Linked DNA regions of Homo sapiens: all the other regions are linked to region 3. Evidence: promoter capture Hi-C in 16 types of primary human blood cells and fetal thymus (Javierre and others, 2016). All regions are on one chromosome and are shown on one strand. Each heading gives the region's core, a stretch centred on a gene start or on the middle of the fragment in contact. The rest is flanking DNA. Distances are from core to core; before and after follow the strand shown.

Region 1 (2,962 bases), core at 420-2,919, 3.1 Mb before region 3:
GAATTTGGAACCAGCCTGGACAACATGATGAAACCCTGTCTCTACTAAAAATACAAAAATTAGCCTGGTGTGGTGGTGTGTGCCTGTAGTCCCAGCTACTTGGGAGGCTGAGGTGGGAAGATCGCTTGAGCCCAGGAGGAGGAGGTTACAGTGAGCCCAGAACCAGCCACTGCACTCCAGCCTGGGCAACAGTGAGACCCTGTCTCAAACAATAATCAATTTTAAATTACATCATGAGTAATGTAAAGAAAAAGCATGATCAGGGAATAAAGAATGTTAGGAGGTGCTATTTTATATTGGGTGGTGAAGGAAGGCCTCAGCGAGGAGGGGGCAATTAGCTAGAAATCTGAAGGAAGACACTGAGCATCAGTGCAGACATTTGGGAAAGGGTGTTCTAGGCACAAAGAACTGCAAATGCAAAGGACCTGGAATGGGAGTAGATGTGAATGTGGATAGCAAAGGAGGCTGACGTGGACGGAGCAGAGTGAGCTGGAGGCGAGAGGTGGGAGATGAGTTTGCAGAAGTAGCCAGCAAACTCATCAAGCTGGTCAAACTTGTAAGCTGAAGTAAGGACTCAACTATTCTGAGTGATGGGGGAGAGAAATGTCTTGACTGACCTGTACGTTAAAAGCCTCACTTGAAGCCAGGCATGGTGGCTCACACCTGTAATCCCAGCACTTTGGGAGGCCAAGGTGGGTGAATCACTTGAGGCCAGGAATTCAAGACCAGCCTGGCCAACATGGTGAAACCCCGTCTCTACTAAAAACATAAAAATTAGCCTGGCATGATGGCACATGCTTGTAATTTCAGCTACTCAGGAGACTGAGGCAGGAGAATCGCTTGAACCCAGGAGGCGGAGGTTGCAGTGAGCCGAGATCGTGCCTCTGCACTCCAGCCTGGGTGACAGAGCAAGACTCTGTCTCAAATAAACAAACAAACCCTCACTTGATTACTGGGGGGAGACTTGATGGTAGAAGAAAAAGAAGAGAAGCAGAACCCAGGTAAGCAGCTAGGAAGCTGTAGTCACCCAGATGAGAGAAAAAGGTGGCCTGGACCACACTCGTACAAGAGGAGGTATGAAGAGGTCAGATTTAGAATGTAGTTGAAAGTAAAGTGTACAGCATTTGCTGATGATTGGATGTGGGGTTTGAAACATGTAACAATTAGATGCTGTATTTCCAAATGTCTTGAATAATAAGAATATATGCAAGGACAGAAATAAATTTGTCTTTGACTTTCCTTTATCCAAAGAAATCAGAAGATGGAGAAAAGCATTTTAGAGAAACAGTGCCAGGGTATGTGATTGCCAGGTGGGCACTGCATGACTGGGTGCCTCACTGAGGAAAAAGTAACTCAACATGGGCAAAGGAGATCCCAAGAGGCAAAAATGTCATTATACGCATTCTTTATGCATACTTGTCAGAAGGAGCACAAGAAACAGCACCCAGATGCTTCTGTCCTCTTCTCAGATTGTTCCAAAAAGTGCCAGAGAGGTAAAGGACCGGGTCTGCTATAAAGGAAAATTTGAAGACTTGGCAAACTCAGGCAAAAGACCCATTATGAAAGAGAAATGAAAACCTATATCCCTCCAGAAAGAGAGGCAAAAAAAAAAAAAAAGCCCAAGAGGCCTCCTTTGGCTTTTTTCTTGTGTTCTGAGTATTGCCCCTGAGTCAAAGGAAAATATCCCGGCCTATACATTGGTGATTTTGCAAAGAAACTGGGAGAGAGGTGGAATGACACTGTTGCAGATGACAAGCAGCCTTATGAAAAGAAGGCTGCGAAGCTGAAGGACAAATATGAAAAGGATATTGTAGCAGACTGAGCTAAAGGAAAGCCTCATGCAGCAACAAAGGGAATTGCCAAGGCTGAAAAAAAAAGAAAAAAAGAAGAGGAGGATGAGGAGGAAGGAGAAGAAGAAGATGATGATAAACGAGTTGGTTGTAGCAGTCTTTCTCTTGTCTATAAAGAATTTAACAACCCCTGTATACAACTCACTCCTTTTAAAGAAAAAAAAATTGAAATGTAAGGCTGTGTAAGATTTGTTTTTAAGCATTACAGTGTCAGCTGGGCGCGGTGGCTCACACCTGTAATCCCAGGACTTTGGGAGGCCAAGGTGGGTGGATCATGAGGTCAAGAGATCGAGACCATCCTGGCTAACACGGTGAAACCCCGTCTCTACTAAAAATACAAAAAAATTAGCCAGGCATGGTGGCGGGTGCCTGTAGTCCCAGCTACTTGGGAGGCTGAGGCAGGAGAATGGCATGAACCCGGGAGGCAGAGCTTGCAGTGAGCCAAGATTGCGCCACCGCACTCCAGCCTGGGCGGCAGAGCGAGACTCCATCTCAAAACAACAACAACAACAAAACAAAACAAAAACAGAAACAAACAAAAAACATTACAGTGTCTTTTTGTACAATTAACAGATTACAAAATGTCTCTTAAGATAGCCCTGTCCTGGTGATATTTTTAATAGACACTAACCTTGCCTGATACAGAATGGGGGTTGTAATTGGCACGGAAATTTAAAGCAGGCTTTGTTGGGGCACAGCACAGATTAGTTATATAGGAGGATAGTTTTTTCATCTTCATTTGTCTCTGATGCAGCTTATACGATATAGTTGTTGTTCTGCTGAGTACCACTCTGTAATTGAAAAAAAAGAAGTTGCAGCTGTTTTGTTGACATTCTGAATACTTCTAAGCAAATACAATTTTTTAAATTAAAAAAGCATTTTAGCCCTTTGCCTTCAGTAAACTGGGCATGAATAAGCCCAGGTGGCATCTTTTAAAGTGTTAAGTAATAACGGTTCCCATGTTCAATGCTTCTGGGAGGTTATAGTCCTCAGTCAATTAATGTTTCCTCGGTGTATAGCGACCCCTGTCTGCAGGAATGCTGTGTGGAGTACACTCTCAAGAAGGAGGTGATGTAAAGAACATGCAACTTGGAATCAGATGCGGATTTGAG
Region 2 (3,052 bases), core at 484-2,983, 3.3 Mb after region 3:
AATGTTTTTCATATGCTTGTTCACTGTTATAGTTCCTCAGAAACTGCTGGAATTTCGTTACTTCATTTTACCTTATGTCATTTATAGGCTTAACATACCTCTGCCTCCCACATCCAGACTCATTTGTGAACTGAGCTGCTATGCAGTTGTTAATTTCATAACTTTTTTCATCTTTCTGAACAAGACTTTTCAGTGGCCAAATAGTCAGGACATTCAAAGGTTTATGTGGTAATATCAGTGATATTTCGAACTGTGAAAATGGACTTAATAATTAGACCATTTCTACAAAGAACAACTGAATAGGTGGAAAACATGGAATTTCTTTTAGGTGCAGTGGTGGTCTTCAAATTACATTAGTTTTTTTTATATATATTTTAAACATATGTAAGAAATTAAGTGGCAAAGAACTGAGAAAGCTTAAGACCTGCTTCAAAAGCCTGAAAAATGGAAAAATAAAATTGTTTTCAGATATCTCATATCACTCTCATAATGTTGGCCCCTTAAAAAGCTTGGGAATGTTTTGTATGTACAAGTTTATTAAAACTGGGTATGCTTCATATTACTGGAATGAATTTATTCTCTTCAGAGAGAAATATTAGGTTAGTGCAAAAGTAATTGTGGTTTTTGCCATTGAAAGTAATGGCAAAACCACAATTACTTTTTTACCAACCTAATAACAATGTATTAGCAAATATTTACAAATGGTCAGGTGATATTCTTGATTGAAAAGTTGCTTAACATTTCAGTAATATAATTTTAATTCTAAGTCAAAATACAAATGCATAGATAGTAAATGATAAAGTAGAGACTCATATATGCCTGTCTAGACATCAAATTGTTGGTTATTGTTTACAATCTAGAAATGATGAAGCTCTTTCACTAATTCCTAATATGAAATGTATGATGGCCAAAGACAAATTGTATTGATTATAATCCTTTAAAAGGGGGATTTCCTTTCTGAAATACATATTGTATTAGCTTCCCAGGGCTTCCATAACAAATGACGACAAACTTGGGTGCTTACAACAATTTTCCTCACAGTCTGGAGGCCAGAAGTCTAAAATCAAAGTGTCAGCAGAGTTGGTTCCTTCTGGAGGCTCTAAGGAAGAATCCATAAACAGACATTCTATGTCTGTTTCCTAATATCTTGTGGCTGTGTGCAATTCTTGGAGTTCTTTGGCTTCTGGACAAATCTTGTCCAAGTATTGCAGACAGCAATCTTCACTCCAGTCTCTGCCTCTGTGTTCACACGGCCTTTCCCTCTGTCTTCTCTTCATTACCTTTTAAGGACAGTGTCTTTGAATGTAGGGCCCACCCTGATCTAGGGTGATTGTGTCTGGAGACCCTTAATTATGTTTACAAAGACCCATGTTCCAAGTAAGTTTGTATTCACATGATCTGAGTAGACATTGTCTCTTCGTGGGATACTTTTCAGTCCATGACAGTTACTAAAGGACATTTTAGGATAGTCTTCATATGATTGTTAGGAGACTACCTTTTTAGATTTTTTTTATTATATATCAAATTATAGTTGTATATACTTATGAGAAACAAAGTGGCATTATGATTTTTGAATATAATGTGGGATTAAATAAAGCTAATCTATCCATCACCTCAAATATTTGACATATTTTGTGATGAAAACATTTGAAATTTACTCTCAGCAGTATTGAAATGTACAGTGCTTAATTATTAGCTGTATTCACCATGTTGTGTAATAGATCTAAAAAAAGTCAAACATGCTCCTTCTATCTAATTGAGGCTTTGTATCTTTTGATTATCATCTCCCCATTCCCACATCCCCGGCCTCTAGCAACCATCATTCTTCTCTCTACTTCTGTGAGTTTAATTGTTTTAGATTACACAAATAAGTGAGATCATGTGGTATTTGTCTTTCTGTGCTTGGCTTATTTCACTTACCATAATGTCCTCCAGGTTCATCCATATTGTTGCAAATGACACAATTTCTACCTTTTTAAAGGCCAAATAGTATTTTATTGTGTATATATGCCACATTTTCTTTATCCATGCATCCATTGATGGACATTTAGGTTGATTGAATAACTTGATAATTGTGACTTGTCTGCAGTGAACGTGGAGTGCAGACTTCTCTTTGACATACGGATTTCAAGTCTTCTGGATAAATGCCCAGAAGTGGGATTGTTGGATCAGGAGATAATATCTTAGCCGATACCTTTTAAATAACTCTCAGTATCTTTACTGAGAGGTTAAAAAGTAAGTGACTTCTGAGGTAATATAAAGCTAAAGGTGACTAGTGTTTGATTCCATTATCTATTTAAAAAAATGTCAGAATTGAAAGTTAAGAAATCATTTGGTCTGACCTTATTTTGTAGATTAGGGAACAACTGCTGGGGTAGGATTATTTTGTGTTACTTTTTGAATTTTGTGTTTATTATTTTGAGTGTATTTTTTGGGTTGTCATTCCATTATAGGAAAGTATTATTTGGGCATGTTAAATTTGACATGTAAACTTAGAATTATGAATAGAACACTTCTTTTAACATAATTTTATGTTTCCAAACTTTAAAAGTAGCTATAAGTGAACAAATTACTTTCCCCTCAATGTCAAATTTTGTTTCTCTGAGTTTTAAGTAATGATTCTACATTTACAAATATAAAATTGTGTGTAGGTGAAAATCACAAGTATAATTTGAATGATAAATACAGACCGTTTTTTGGTTGTACTCTAGTACTCAGAAAATAGAGTTGCATTAGTTATAACAGTGATTGTAGAAAAACGTGTTTTACCCAGACTTTTTAAAAATTAGACGAGAGAGGACACTCAGAGAAATTATACTTTTGTCATTAATTTACTATAATAGAGAACTAAATCCGAGAAGTCAAAATTGAAAAAAGAATGTATAATTTAGGGAAAATAACTTTTTGTCTGATAATATTAATGCAAGGATTTTGTATTTAGGAATACTTCTGAGAGGAGAAGCTTCCACTCTGATCTAGTCTGGCAAAATTGAGGAAAATATTCTACCCTGTAATTAAAGAAGACTGCTCTTTGGAGGGATCACTGTTCTAG
Region 3 (3,375 bases), core at 421-2,920:
AAAAATGTCAGCTCCTTAATCTTTAAGATCATGCATCTACAGGACTGGAAGAAAAAAAGTTACCTTCTTTTTCTCGATGTTTCTAATTTTGTGTTTAAGGCATATGAGTCCATTTTCAATATAGGTCTCATACGCTTGGGAAGGAGATGCAGCAGAACTCAGAGTAGACTGCAGGGGGCTCAAGGCCCGCTGGCTTTCCCCATGCTGACTGTGGTTCACTTGGGGCTTGGCTGACTTCATATTCCCCTCTCTTTCCTCCTCTGAATGGCCTGAAGGTGACTGGTAACCAAAAGGGGATGAAAAGAGTTGCACCATTGAAACAGATGAGGCTGAAGGAGGTGGGGGAAAGTTAAGTATAAAATTAGGACTAGAGGGACACAGCCAGGCAATAACTTCCCTGGAAAGTCTAGACCACTCCCTTAAACTCTTTTCCACAGAAGTGAGCTCGAAACCCAATGATGCTTGAGATACTTGTACTTCCATCCTACTTTTAAAGTAATTAGTGCCGCTAGCCAATAAGGATAGCCTTTACATAGGCAAAATCTCCCAATACGGAGGATGTTTCCAGAAATTCGATTTTCCACATAGGGAGGAAGAACTGCAACGGCTTCAGAGCTCCTTTCTTCTCATGAGGGCAGATCACATTCTAAATAATTCCCATGGCCACGTGATGACACCAAAAGAATAAGCTTTCCACACCGGGACCTAAGGCTGAGCCACTCAAACCTCTTTACATGATCCCTCACCACCAGCCCTAACCTCAATCCTGAACGTTTGGAAGAAAATCCAAACTCACAACATTCTTTTATAGCTCTAAGTGAACCAGCAGCTTCTTGAACAAGAATGCTAACTTCCCCGATTGCTCTGGGGCCTACAAGGCAATCCATCACTACTGGACATTTGCAGACAGGTACTCTCTCAACCTGCAGGAACCCCGCGTTTATTCTCAGTTGTTTGGTTTAGACTAGCCCAAAACCGCTTACACCCAACCAGTTTAAGAGCTCATTCTAGCGAGCCCTTCCCGTGCCCTAATCAGTGGCCCTTGCGCACTTACGTATCCGTCTCTCGACCTCCAAGCACCCGAGGTATCCCTTTCTCCCCCCTTAGGAGCATCCCCAAACCAAGGACAGAACAGGCCCCATGCACGCCAGCGCGCACCCCCTCAAGTCTCCGGGGGAGCCTGAGCGAAGAGCACCTCTCCCGAGCGGCCACGGAGAGCCCTGCAGGCACCGACCCCCACCCTTCCCACAGCCGCCCCGGGTACGCAGAAGCCGCTTCTGCAAGGCCCCGGGGGAGGCTGACCTGCGGAAAACGCACCGACCGCGGCCCTCGGGAGCCCCGCCCCGCCCCGGGGATGCCAAGCCGCCCCTCCACCTCGCAGCGGCGCCGGCCGCCCAGACCTGCCCACCCTCGCCGGGTCAGCCGCCTCCCTCCGCCGCGCCGACCGAGGCCGCCGCAGCCCGACTTCACCTCCCCAGGCAGCCGAGGCCGCCGCTGCCGCAGCCCGGGCCCGCCTTCCAAAGCCTGGGGGAGGCAGGAGCGCTGCGGAGGTGGACCGGCGCCACCCCGCACTCGCGTCTCCTCCTCCTGTCTCCTCCCTCTCCCCTCCCGGTCCTCGCCCGCGGCCTCTGCGGCGCCAGAGACCCAGCCGACTCAGCCGCTCGCGCCCAGGCCCGCCCACCGCGCCGCGCGTGGCTTTTGTAGGCCGCGCCCCGCCCCGGCCCGCTCCGCCCTCGGCCGCCCCGCCACCGCCTCCTTCCGGTGCTCCTTCCCGGCTGCAGCTGGCCGCCAGCGCTTGTCGGGTGTTAGTTCCGGGCCCAGCTTGGGCTGGTGGTAGGTCGGGAGAGGGCGCGGTCTCCCAGCCTTTGCGCAGATTGCGGGGCACCAGGTGGGGCCGAGGCGACGCCGAACGCCGGCAGGCCGGAAACCGCGCAGCCCCGCTGGACCTCGCTGATTGCCGGCGGCACCGGTGGTTTCGCGACCTTGAACAGGTGACTCCAATAGCTCCAGGAGGGCAGCGAGCCCTTCGCGGAACTACCAGATAAGCCATGCTTGAGGCTGTCGTAGCCTAGTGGGTAGTCGTGAAATGCAGATGCGCCTTTGCCCCTCAGATAGCATCTTTCATAGTAGGATGGGGAAAAAACACCGTTTCCTTACCGGGGAATCAGCCTGTAAGAGCAGAATGCCCCAAATCAGCATCGCCATAAAAACGGAGTAGGTGACTTCGCAACCTGCAATAATAGGATTGAGTTTATTCAAGCCGTATTATTTGTTCATGTGACACACATTAATTGACTGGCACGCAGAGAAAGCTGTAAAAAATCTTTGTAAGGTTACATAAAATTAAGAGAAAAGTCTGGAAATATGTAAAAGTTTATTGAGGAAAGGAAGGTGTTTCTGATACCAAATAAGAAACACACACACACACTCAGCAATACTTTGCCCCAACATGTGTTTACTTATTACACCAAGTGGAGTTTTTTAGGTCCTGATTGTCCCTGACGCTCTGATAAAAAATATTGAGACTAGCAAAAGAACAGAAAATTCAGAAGAAGAATCAAGGAAACAAAGGTCTAGTTTTAAAAGCCTTGGTCAACTTCACACAAATTAATTTTAACATTACTTAATACATTTTTTTGGCATCTATTATCCGTGTTCTTTTCGGTCCCTGGTGACATAATGTACCCTAATGTTGCATTTTAACTTTGAATCTCTGAATCCCATATGTGTTCTTCAGGGTCAGAGAAATACTAGATTTTCCCTTTTTCTCATTGTTTATAAACAGAGAAACGCAGAAGATGCTGAACATGAGGAGAGGAAGGCTATGCCTTCACCTTTGGTAACACAAAAAACAGTGGCCATAAGAAAAAATGTGAAGGACACACTGTTGGATCAATGAGTTGACACAAAGTTACAGCACAGCCTGAGTTGTAGTCCGAGCTAATGATGAACCTAAAAATGGTATTTCAGTCAGATTAATCATGAAATGTTTGCCCCCTGCCGGCGCAGTGGCTCAAGCCTGTGATCCCAGCACTTTGGGAGGCCGAGGCGGGGTGGATCACCTGAGGTCGGGAGTTCGAGGCCAGGCTGGCCAGCGTGGTGAATATCCATCTCTACTAAAAATACAAAAATTAGCCGAGCATGGCGGCATGTGCCTGTAATCATGGCTACTCAGAGGCTAAGGCAGGAGAATCGCTTGAAACCCGGAGACGGACGCTGCAGTGAGCCGAGATTGTGCCGCTGCACTCCAGCCTGGGTGACAGAGCAAGACTCTATCTCAAAAAAAGAAAGAAAGAAAGAAATGTTTGCCTTCTAATCGGTCAGGCAAAAAGGAGGCCGTAAATTTTAAATTTTCTACTAAATGGATATTCTTCT

The links. The method cuts DNA at HindIII sites, captures the fragments that hold promoters and counts their contacts. A CHiCAGO score of 5 or more calls a contact.
Region 1: a contact is called between a fragment that was not itself captured here and the fragment with the promoter of CAPRIN2 in region 3, in 1 of 17 cell types (total B cells). The highest score is 5.2, in total B cells.
Region 2: a fragment that was not itself captured here is called in contact with the fragment with the promoter of CAPRIN2 in region 3 in 4 of 17 cell types (total B cells, non-activated CD4 T cells, activated CD4 T cells and 1 more); the score reaches 7.5 in total B cells.

What each region holds. Positions count from the first base shown.
Region 1 is chr12:27,700,980-27,703,941 of GRCh38, forward strand. It overlaps MRPS35-DT (MRPS35 divergent transcript), which reads right to left. Exons shown (of 5, transcript XR_001749448.2): 3 at 2,482-2,641. It also overlaps the pseudogene HMGB1P49. Among named protein-coding and RNA genes, the nearest start is that of REP15, 6.0 kb to the left of the region's middle. The HindIII fragment of the contact is 3,947 bases long and covers 1-2,962 here.
Region 2 is chr12:34,026,684-34,029,735 of GRCh38, forward strand. ALG10 (ALG10 alpha-1,2-glucosyltransferase) reads left to right here. Exons shown (of 3, transcript NM_032834.4): 3 at 1-1,619. The coding sequence ends at 232. Among named protein-coding and RNA genes, the nearest start is that of ALG10, 5.7 kb to the left of the region's middle. The HindIII fragment of the contact is 2,454 bases long and covers 507-2,960 here.
Region 3 is chr12:30,753,281-30,756,655 of GRCh38, forward strand. It overlaps CAPRIN2 (caprin family member 2), which reads right to left and starts at 1,671. Exons shown (of 19, transcript NM_001385503.1): 1 at 1,471-1,671; 2 at 64-279. The coding sequence starts at 240. It overlaps LOC645485 (a long non-coding RNA gene), which reads left to right and starts at 1,794. Exons shown (of 2, transcript NR_135046.1): 1 at 1,794-1,991. RefSeq lists enhancers at 1,045-1,124, 1,128-1,297 and silencers at 1,225-1,904, 2,996-3,199. The HindIII fragment of the contact is 2,894 bases long and covers 688-3,375 here.